Linked DNA regions of Homo sapiens: region 2 is linked to region 1. The links are contacts of gene promoters, found by promoter capture Hi-C in blood cells and fetal thymus (Javierre and others, 2016). All regions are on one chromosome and are shown on one strand. Each heading gives the region's core, a stretch centred on a gene start or on the middle of the fragment in contact. The rest is flanking DNA. Distances are from core to core; before and after follow the strand shown. Region 1 holds the start of GSG1L (GSG1 like). Region 2 has its middle 26 kb from the start of ZKSCAN2.

The links. The method cuts DNA at HindIII sites, captures the fragments that hold promoters and counts their contacts. A CHiCAGO score of 5 or more calls a contact.
Region 2: a fragment that was not itself captured here is called in contact with the fragment with the promoter of GSG1L in region 1 in 1 of 17 cell types (naive CD4 T cells); the score reaches 5.2 in naive CD4 T cells.

The regions. Positions count from the first base shown.
Region 1 is chr16:28,060,077-28,065,889 of GRCh38, forward strand. It overlaps GSG1L (GSG1 like), which reads right to left and starts at 3,638. Exons shown (of 7, transcript NM_001109763.2): 1 at 3,000-3,638. The coding sequence starts at 3,348. The HindIII fragment of the contact is 8,058 bases long and covers 40-5,813 here.
Region 2 is chr16:25,280,944-25,286,756 of GRCh38, forward strand. No RefSeq gene overlaps it. Among named protein-coding and RNA genes, the nearest start is that of ZKSCAN2, 26 kb to the left of the region's middle. The HindIII fragment of the contact is 9,281 bases long and covers 1-5,813 here.

The DNA.
Region 1 (5,813 bases), core at 2,388-4,887:
TCGCATTTGGATGCACGTGAAACACACAGAAGGAAAGAAAGCTTTGCTGTAGTTTGATGGAAGGGAGGGAAGTTTAGCCTTGATGTATAGGGGTGGGGGAGGCGAGATTTTGTTCAGGGGGCTATTGGGATGTTTTTTTCCTCTTCGAGTAAAAAAATAAAATAGTCACAGAACCCAGAGGAAAGGTTGTCATGGCAACAAAAGTTTGAGGCCAGGTACTTGCTATCACCCTTTCAGGACCACCGTGGTGGAGAAGGCAGGATTTTGGCACTGTAGGATCAGCTGCAGAAACCACCCCAGCTGGCTCCGATTCCCAAATTTCTCACCAGCACTGACAAGCTGATAACTATTTTCCAAGCTCTCAGAGAGGAAAATTGTGATTTTGGGGGAGGGATGATCTCCAGCCCACAGTGGCCAAGAGGAAACTGGGGGTTTCTTTTATTTATGCAACAAACTAACCATCCGCATTTCTAACTGAGTTTTGGGAGTGAGGGTCTTAACTGAGTCCCCCAAAATGCCAACTTCCCTGACCCCTCAACTGTACTATTCTCTTCCGCGATCCCTTCACTCTGATTTCTTTCTGTTCCCGAGAAGGTAATTCCAGCTCCCTTGCCAGAATCCCCTGTGAGCCTAAGTTCCTCATCTGAAAAAGCAAGTACCCTAGAAGTGTCTGCCTCAAAGGTGGCGGCCAGGATTCAACAAGATTCAGGAGATGAGAAGTTTCAGCAGGACCTGGTGAACGTTAAAGGCTCAATAAATGTTAGCCAACATTGTTTTTTAAATAATTTTCAATTAATAATTTTTTAAAATACTTAAATATCCCAAGTCAAGCCCTGAAAGAACTACAGGGAAATAATTGTAGCAAGTACTGGGACCGTGACCTTCAGGGAGCAGCCAACAGAGACTCCAAACAATTAAGAGGCTCAGCTGAGCAGCTTGGACCAGGACACTCCACAGAGGTAGAGACAGGACCACTCCGGTGCCAGAGATGCCTCATTGTATTTTCAGGTGTGTGCACAGAGGAAGGGAGGCAGAGGTGGTATCTCCCCAGGGCTGGGTCTCCTGAGCCTTGGAAACACCTTCTTGAACTTGGAGAAAGATGTACAGTAGCAAGATGTCTACCTCCAAGGACGAAGATGTTCCTGACAACAAGGTGTTACGAGGCCTCCGTGTGAGAGATTAGGGTTGGGCTGTGCGGAAGGCAGGGAATTTTGGCCAAGATGCCTTTTGAAGTTAATAATTTTAATTGCATCCCACAGTAAACATTTGAGTGTTGAGTGTAAACCAGAAGTGGGTCTGATGGGATGAAACCAATCAGGGGCAGGTCCATATTCAAACACCATGTATCTCTGACAAACGGCCAGCCTGGCTCAAGTCACAGAAAAGTTTGGTCAGCCACCCCCAGAAGAGAGACAGAGGAGGCAGCACCGCAGGAAGCCTCCGGTTCATCATCCCAACCCCATCCAGTATGCACCCGGCAAATGTTTATTGAAGACCTACTATGCGCTAGACATTACTGGGAGGCAGCAGTGAACAAGACCAACCGGGCTGGCCCTCACAGAGTGACATCCTATGGGGAGTGGGGACTATAAGCTAGTGACCAAAAACAGGCCCCAGAAAATGTCAGGGAGTGCCAAGTGTGGCAGGGAGATAAACGCAGTGGTGAGATCCAAAGATGGAGACCCTCCCTCCAACGGGGAGCTCACAAGGTTGTCCCTCCTCAGTATCCTGACATGGAAGGCAGGTGGGAGAGTCCCAGTGAAAGGAGCCCCTGAAGAAGGAGGTGGGGCGGGGAAGGGCATTCCAGACAGAGGATGCAGCCTGTGCAGAGGCCTGGAGCTTTTCACTGGGTTCGCTTCACAGCTTCCTCCCTCTGCCCTCTAAACCACTTAGGCCACTGGCTTATTTAGGGCAAACTAAGGGTGGAGGTCTGCTGTAACCCACCCTTGAGCACACACATATGTGTGGTGTCCACACTGAGGAGCTAGGCATGCAGGGAGGAGTTTTAACCTTGGAGAAAGAGGTCAATTCACTCAGGAGGGTGTCCATGCCTGGACACCCGCTCAGAGATACCACGTCTTTCGGGCCAGCTCTACCTGCTGTGTGGCACAACCAGCTGTCCGGCAGCTGTCCCCTGGGCCCTGCCACAGCCCGGCTGTCTGCCTCCAAAACACGCACTCCAGCCCAGGCTGCCTCTGGAGGGTAGAGGAGGGGGTCCAGGCAAAGGGGACAGTCTGATCTGCCTTCTGAAAAGTCAGTCCCCCACCGAACCTAATAGGAGCCTTGTGCTAAGCTAAGCCCTCCTGGACTCCTCGACCCGGAGTTTGCCCAGCTGTCCCCAGTTCCCTAGCCTGCCTCTCCCAGGAGGGGGCCAGGATACAGAGGGCTCCCTGGCGTCTGGCAATAGGGGTGCCTCTGGGCGGGTGCGGCTTTCCGGGAGCCCGCGGGACTCCCCCACTCCCCACTCCCGTCTGGGAGGTTCGGCGTGGGTTGGCGATGGGGGTGGAAGGCTCCCGGGTCTGTGGATCTGCGGCAGGAGGGGCGGCTGGTAGCAGGAGTCCCTGCATCACCCCCACCCCCAGGGGCGTTCCGGGGTGGGTGGGGGCATCTAGTGCCCCGCGAAAGGAAGAGGAGGAGGGGGCGAGCGTGGAGATGAGTTCAGGAGCGGAAAGCAGCGCGCGCCCCTCCGACCGGCAGCGGGGGTGGGCGCCTTCCCGGGGCGCGGGAGCGTCCCCAAAGCCGCGGGGCGTCCGCAGCGGGTAGGAGCTCTGCCTTGCACCTCTCCACGGCGGGGCGTCCCGCACGTCCCCCCATGCTGGTCCCCGGCCCCGGAACGGCGCGCGCCCCCTGCCCCGGAACGTCGCCCCTAGCCAGGCGGAGCGCTGGGAGCTGGGCCCAGGCGGCGGGAGGAGGGCGAACGGGTCCGGGGCTCGGGCCTCGATGGCCGCGCCGCCCCGGGGGAGCCGGAGCCGAGCTGGCCGCCGCCCGCGCGCACTCACCAAGCCCGCTGAGCTCCTCCTCGCACGAGTACCAGATGCCGGTGTGGAAATTCCTGAAGAGGAAGCGGTCGTCGCCGGTCTCCCAGCTGTAGAGCGCGCCGCCAGGGGGGCCGTTCCCCGAGGCGGTGGCGGCGGCGGCGGCGGCGGCGGGGGCGGCGGTGCCGTTGGCCGTGGCGTTGGCGCCCGAGTTGGGGCAGTTGGCGCGCCCGCCCTGGCCGCAGCCCGGCTTGGGGACCCGCTGCGTGCCCTGGCACCAGTGCGTGGTGAGGAAAGCGGTGGTGGCGAACAGCAGCGCCAGCAGGTTCAGGGCCACGGCCAGGAGCGCTCGGCCGCGGCGGCTAGTCTTCATGCCGCCCGCGCCGCCGGGACGGGACTGCACCGCCGGGGAGCTCCGCGCGCGAAGTTGGCAGCTGGCGCCCCGCGTCAGCGGCCGCTGCCCGCCGCGCCCCGGGGCTCGGGTGCCTGAGATCGGCGGCGGCGGACGCGGCGCGGGCCCATGCCCCCCCCAACCCCGGGGTGGGGGCGCGGCGCGGGGGGCGTGCGGGGCGGGCTGGCGGGGCGGGCGGCGGTGGAGGAGCGGCTACGGCGCGCCCGGAGCCCGGAGCGCGAGTGCACCTCGGCTAGGAGCCGCTGGCGCCTGGCAGCGGCCACGGCGCAGGGACGCGCGCCCCTCCGTGGGGAGACACCTGCAGGCGGCCGGCGACACTGTTCCGGAGCCCGCCCGCACGGGGAGAGGGGGCCGCCACGCCGGGCGCGGGCGGGGGCCTGGGAGTGGAGGGACGCCCCCGAAAGAAATCCGAGCCAGGGTGAGGGTCTGAGACGCAAGGAGAATCCCAGGCAAGGCGCTCCTGAGAAAAGATCCCCACGGCGGACGTGGGGCAACAAAACCCGCCGGGAGCGGGCATCTCATGAGACCCAGAGAGGCCCTGCCCCAGGAGACAAGGGCAGAGCCTGCTGGGGCTCCCCAAGAGGGACACGGACCAGCAGGACCCTGTCCCAGAAGGGGATCCCCAAAAGGACCCCCGCACCAGACCCTGAGAAAGGAGTTTTTCCAAAGGTTCTAAACAGCAGAGCCTGCAGGGCTTCCCACAGCCAGGGAGCTGCAAGACCCCCTGGATAAGACAACCCATGCTGGACTTGGAGTGGCAGAATCTGTCAGGAGGCGCCCCTCCTGGAGTATTGGGTTATAGGGTTTGAAACGTTTTTCTGTCTCCTGGGTGTCACCTCCAGCATCTGGGAAGAGCTCCCCTCCAAGGATGAAACTGTCATCTGGGCTCCCAACCATGGCATGCAACTGCAGGAAGAGTGGCAACAGGGTACCCCAGACAGCCCACTGCACCCACCTGAGATCCCAAACAGCAGAACCCTAGGAGGGCCCATGCCGGCCACAAAGTTATTGCAGCTACCAGGCAGTGGTGCCCTACAGGGGCTGCCAACCCTGCTCACATGCACACCATGTGAATGTGGGTAGAATCTTCAAGATTCGGGTGGGGGCAGGGTGGCCAAACATACTGACTTTGGGATCAAGCATATCTAGGGCTTGACCAGCTGTGTGGCTTTGAACAGGTCACTTACCCTCTCTGAGCCTCAATTTCCATAACTATAAAAAAGGGAGGACCCCCCCCCCTTCAAGGTATATCACAGTGGGCTGCTGTAATGAGATCATGGCTGCAAAAAGCATTTGGCACACAGTAGACTCAATTAATAATTCACTGTTACTGACATCTGAACCAAGATCAGTTGACCAAACTCAGACAAACCTCTTCAGGCTCTCCTGTGCAACGTGGAAACTGTGTGCAACCCCGTCCCCACCTCTGCTCTAAGATGACCACGCTCCCTGAACTCCCTTCGCGCTGCACAGCACTTACTGCCCAGATGCTCAGGGCGTGCAACAATTAATTGCATGTTGATTATAAGAGCTCATTTGAATTCTGCCCAAGCTGAGAACTGCTCCGACAACCCCCGGCTTGCCGAGTGGCAGGCCTTGCAGAATTCAAGGTTAACCGATTATGAATTGCCTTACTCCTGTGGGTGAGCCGGCACCCACTGTCAGCTGCTGCTAATCTGCCGGGGGGTAGGTGAGAGGAAAACGTTGTGGGCAACGTCCCTGGTAAGAGCAGGCACGAAGGATGGCCAAGGGTCTCCAAACTTGCTTTTAGAGCCCTTTTCTGGCACTGTGCAAGAGATTCTCAACTATTTTGAAAGAGAGGACCTCCATGTGATAATGGTGGCATTGAGAGTATTGGTTGACAGAGAAAATACATCATCGCCAAACAGCTGTAAAGAATCCAGTAGCATCTTTTTTTTTTTTTTTTTTTTGAGATGGAGTCTCACTCTGTCGCCCAGGCTGGAGTGCAGTGGTGCAATCTCAGCTCACTGCAACCTCCGCCTTCTGGGTTCAAGCGATTCTCATACTTCAGCCTCCCGAGTAGCTGGTATTACAGGCGCTTGCCACCACGCCTGGCTATTTTTCATATTTTTAGCAGAGACGGGGTTTCACCGTGTTGGTCAGGCTTGTCTCGAACTCCTGACCTCAAGTGATCTGCCCGCCTCGGCCTCCCAAAGTGCTGGGATTACAGGCATGAGCCACCGCACCCAGCCTCCAGTAGCACTTTTAAACTGGCATGCAGTATTCATCATGAGTGTCTGTGTACCAATGAAAACCAGCCCCTCGATGTGTGCTAAACAGGGTACTTCTTTGGACTCGAGGCTGTGGTTGGTGTGCATGTGAGCAGGGCTCGGTGACCTACAGCTGGGAACCCTGTCCTGCATGTTCAAAGCCAGGAGAGCCCAGGTGAGATATGTCTCAGGGAC
Region 2 (5,813 bases), core at 2,109-4,608, 2.8 Mb before region 1:
TATGGTATATTTTGATGTAGTCTATTCACTTTAACTGCTAGAGAGTATGTGGTAGGAATTTACCTCATTTTATGTATCCATTTTCTAATATTGGACATTTAAATAGTTTCCTGTTTCCCGTTACCTTTGGAAATATCCTTGTATATTTCTCCTTGCGCACAAGTGAGAGAAGTTTCTCTGTGGACTTTTCTTAGAGTGGAATTGCTGGGTTGTAGGGAGTGAGGGTTTTTTTTTTTTGAGACGGAGTCTTGCTCTGTGGCCCAGGCTGGAGTGCAGTGGTGTGATCTCGGCTCACTGCAACCTCCACCTCTTGCGTTCAAACGATTCAGGAGTGAGCAGTTCTTGAACATTTTAAGATACAATTACCTTGCTCTCTGGGGTCATTGCACAAATCTACAGTAGTGTCTTGGGGTTGTGTTACCCACGTCCTTTTCAAGGCTTGTTATTTTCTGACTTTTATACATTTAAAAAATGAATCTGATGGGCTTAAAATGATGTGTGTATATTTTTAAATGTGTGTTATATTTGCATTTATTCACTTTTTTTTTTTGGCGTTTGTGTGCCTCTTCTGCAAATTTCCTATGTCCTTTGCCTATTTCCCTTCCCCTACTAGCATATTGAAGGTGAAGTCTTTCTAGGTCTTGGTTTTGGTTTTTAAAATTTGGCCATAGCCCTACCTCCTCAAAACTTGGTAAAAAAAAAAAAAGTGGCATGCATGGGAGACGAAGTCAGAACTTGAATTTAGGGTATTCCAGTTTCAGTCCTGGCTCTGATGCTAACTGGCTGTGTGAATTTGGGCAAGTTATTTAACCTCTGTAAACCTCAGCTTCCTCACCTGGAGAATGGTGATAACCATCTCTACTTCTCAAAGTCAATGACAGGCTTAAATACACTGGTGCCTATGAGTGGTCAGTAAATAACAGTTGAGTTGAAGAGCCCAGATAAAGTTCTCACCATGTCCAGATGCCTTCACATATAGCTCTGAACGGATCTATAGCACAGCCTCCATGAAGGAATTCAGCTATCACAGTGGGGCACAGCCCTCCCATAGGACGGTTCTGCTGTCTGCCAGGTGGCCCTAGAACTGACACACAGTTCTGGAGACCCGTAGACTGTTCTAGGGAAGCCCCCTCCCCACTTTCTCTGCTACTTCCAGAGAGGTCTCATGGGACATCATTAACCTCACATCGGAACAGTAGTGGCTCTGGAATGCCAAACCAGCATCTATACCCTCCCTTAATGCCCACTAAGGAAACCAAACCATTTGGAATTAGTAATAATAACAAAAGAAACAACAATAGCTCATCATTCTTGAATGCTACCTGAATAGATATAAAGCACTTAGAACATTGCCTAACACATAGGAAGCACTATGTAAGTGTTAGCTATCATCATTATTATTATTACATGGTGATGATGATGATGTACTAGGCACTGAGTTAAGCATAATGGACATTAATTTGTTTAAGCCTCATAACTGTAAAGATTTTTGGTTAATTCTCATAAGTATAAGTGCTGGGGATGGACACCCCTCCCAGCGCTTTTCTAAGTTCTTTCTCTAAGCACAGAGATGTTGGACTAGGGGGGAATGATTTTTTTTCCTTAAGATGATAGTAATACTTCATGTAGTATTTGTTCATCAATTAACAGCTTACAAAGTGCTTCCATAGGCATGCATTCTTTCAGTCCTCACAAAATCCTAGTGCAGGAGTATCTTATCTCCCTTTTGAAACAGCCCCCTCTCAGCTTCCAGGAGCCACATATCCTGGTTTCCTTCCTCTATCATGGTCCACTTCTTTCCAATCTTCTTTTGCTTGATCCTCCTTTTCCCCCCGATCTCCACATGTAAGCGTTTCTTAGAGGATCTGATGCATGAGTTCCATGCGCAGAGATTCTAGCTTATTAAGAGTTGATTTGCTGTTAAGGCTTAGGCAGCAGCACTTTTTTGGTGGGTGCAAATTATTATTATTATTATTTTTCACAGAGCAGTGTGAACATTTATTTGTACAAATTTATGGGCCAACACTCTCACCACTCCGATTCAACATAGTGTCAGAGGTATTTGAACCAGAGTAACTCCATCTTAAATAGGAGCTGTGTAGAATGAGGCTGAGTCCAACTGGGCTGCATTCCCAGACAGTTAACGCATTTAAGTCACAGGATGAGGTAGGAGGTTGGCACAAAGTACAGATCATAAAGACCTTGCTGATAACACAATTTGCAGCAAAGAAGTCAGCTAAAATCCACCGAAACCAAGATGCCCACGAGGGTGACCTCTGGTTGTCCTCACTGCTACACTCCCAACAGCGCCATGACATTTTACAAACTCTATGGCAATGTGAGAAAGTTACCCTATATGGTCTAAAAAGGGGAGGCATGAATAATCCACCCCTCGTTTAGCATATCATCAAGAAATAACCATAAAAATGGACAACCAGCAGCCTCCAGGGCTGCTCTGTCTATGGAGTAGCCATTCTTTTATTCTTTCACTTTCCTATTAAACTTGCTTTCACTTTATGCACTTGCCCTGAGTTCCTTCTTGCGCAAGATCCAAAAACCTTCTCTTGGGATATGGATTGGGACCACTTTCCAATAACAATAGTACTGGAAATCCTAACCAGAGCAATCAGGCAAGAGAAAAAAAAAAGTCATCCAAACAGGGAAAGAATATGTCAAATTATGTCTCTTCCCTGATGATATAATTCTATATCTAGAAAATCCTAAAGTCTCTACCAAAAGGCTCCTAGAATGGATAAATGACCTCAGTAAAGTTTCAGGATACAAAAATCAATGTGCAAACATCAGTAGCATTTCTACACATCAATAATGATCAAGCTGAGATCCAAATCAAGAATGCAACCCCATTTACAGTAGCCACACCAAAAACAAAATATCTATCTGGGAATACCTCTAACCAAGGAGGAGAAAGATCTCTAGAAGGTGAACTACAAAATACTGCTGAAAGAAACCATAAATGACACACAAATGGAAAAATATTCCATGCTTATGGACTAGAAGAATCAATATTGTTAAAATGGCCATACTGCCCAAAACAGTCTATGGATTCAATGTTATTTCTATCAAACTATCAAAGCCATTCTTCACAGAACTAGAAGAAACTATTCTACAGCTCATATGGAACCAAAAAAAAAAAAAAAAAAGCCCCAATAGCCAAAGCAATCCTCAGCAAAACAGAACAAAGCTGGAGGCATCATAGTACCTGACCTAAAACTATACTCTAAGGCTACGGTAACAAAAACAGCATGGAAGTGGTATGAAAATAGAAACATGGACCAATGGAACAGAATATAGAACCCAGAAATAAAGCCACACGTTTACAACCAACTGATCGTTGACAAAAATAAGCAATCGAGAAAGGACCCTTTATTCAATAAATGGTGTTGGGATAACTGGCTAGCCATATGCAGAAGAATAAAACTGGACCTCTATCACCACATACAAAAATTAACTCAAGATGGGTTAAAGACTTACATGTAAGACCTAAAACTAAAAATTCTAGAAGAAAATCTAGGAAACACCATTTTCGATGTTGGTCTTGGGAAATAATTTATGACTAAGTCCTCAAAAAATTTGCAACAAAAACAAAAATTGACAAATGGGACCTAATTAAATGAAAGAGCTTCTGCACAGGAAAAGAAACTATCAACAGAGTAAACAGACAACCTGGAGAACAGCAGAAAATATTAACAAACTATGCATCCAAAAGAAGTGTAATATGAAACTTAAACAATTCAACCAGCAAAAAAACAAATGACCCTATTAAAAAGTGGGCAAAAGACATGAACAGACACTTCTCAAAAGAGGTGGGTAGATCACCTGAAGTCAGGAGTTTGAGACCAGCCTGGCCAACGTTGTGAAACCCCGTCTCCACTAAAAATACAAAAAATTAGCCAGGTATGGTGGCAGGCGCCTGTAATCCTAGCTACTCAGGAGGCTGAGGCAGGAGAATCGCTTGAATCTGGGAGTCGGAGGTTGCAGTGAGCCAAGATCACACCATTGCACTCCAGCCTGGGCAACAAGAGTGAAACTCTATCTAAAACAAAACAAAACAGACATACAAGCAGCCAACAGACGTAAAAAAATGCTCAACATTGCCAATCATCAGAGAAATACAAATCAAGACCACAGTGAGACCAATTAATAGCTCACACCCGTCAGAATGGCTTTTGTTAAAAGTGAAAAGATAATAGATGTTGGTGAGGCTGTGGAGAAAAGGGAATGCTTGTACACTTTTGGTGGAAATGTAAGTTAGTTTAGCCACCATGGAAAGCAGTTTGGAGATTTCTCAAAGAACTTAAAACAGAACTACCATTCGACCCAGCAATCTCATTACTGGGTATATACCCAAAGGAAAATAAATTGTTCTATCAAAAAGACACATGCACGCATGGGTTCATCACAGCACTATTCACAACAGCAAAGTCATGGAATCAGTGTAGGTGCCCATCAGTGGTGGACTGAATGAAGAAGATGTATACACCATGGAATACTGTGCAGCCATACAAACAAACAAAATCACATCCTTTGCAGCAACATGGGTACAGCTGGAGGCCATTATCCTAAGCAAATTAATGCAAGAACAGAAGACCAAAGACTACATATTCTCACTTACAAGTGGGAGATAAATATGCTCATAGATGTAAAGATGGCTACTACAAATAAAGTTGCTACGAACAATCACAGATCAGTTTTTGTGTGGGCATAGGTTTTCATTTCTTTGGGGTAAATGCCCAGGGGTGGGTACAATTGCTGGGTCATATAGTAAGTGTATTTTTTTTTTTTTTTTAAAGAAAGTGGCAATCTATTTTTCCATGGTGGCTATACCATTTTTACACTCCAGAAATATACAAAAAATCTAGTTTCTCCACATCCTTGCTGGCATTTGATACTGTCACTGTTTTTTATTTCAAATGTTCTAATAGATGAGTATTGATAGCTCATTGTGGTCTTGATTTGCATTTTCCTAATGGCAAATTATGTTGAACATTTTTCCTGTGCTTGTTTGCCATTTGTATATCCTCTTTGGTGAAATGCGCCTTTTGCCCATTTTCTTTTTTTTTTTTTCTTTTGAGAAGGAGTCTCGGTCTATCACCAGGCTGGAGTGCAGCAGTGCAATCTCGGCTCACTGCACCCTCCACCTCCCGGGCTCAAGCGATTCTCCTGCCTCAGCCTCCTGAGTACCTGGGACTATAGGCACGCACCACCACGCCCGGCTAATTTTTGTGTTTTTAGTAGATACGGGGTTTCACCATGTTGGCCAGGATGGTCTCAATCTCTTGACCTTGTGATCTGCCTGTCTCAGCCTCCCAAAGTGCTGGGATTACAGGCGTGAGCCACTGCACCCGGCTGCCCATTTTCTAATTGAATTATTATTATTTGTTTAATGTTCAGTTTTGAGAGTTCTTTATTCCAAAGTGGCCTTTTGTTAGATATGTGATTTGCAAATAATTTCTTCCAGTTTATAGCTTATCTTTTTATCCTTTTAATGAAGTCTTTTACAGAGTAAAAGTTTTTCATTTTGAAGTCCAATTTATCAATTTATTCTTTTATGAATTACACTTCTGGTGTCATGTTTAAGAGTTCTTCATGTGCTCCAAAGATTTCCCCTTTTGTTATCTTCTAAAATATTTATAGTTTTACATTTTATGTTGAAGTCTATGATCCATTTTCAGTTAGTTTTTATATAAGGTGTGAGATGTAGGTCAGAGTACTTAAAAATTTTTTTTTGCTTCAGCACCATTTGGAGAAAATATTACACTTCTTATATTGAGTTGCTTTTGCATCTTGTAAAA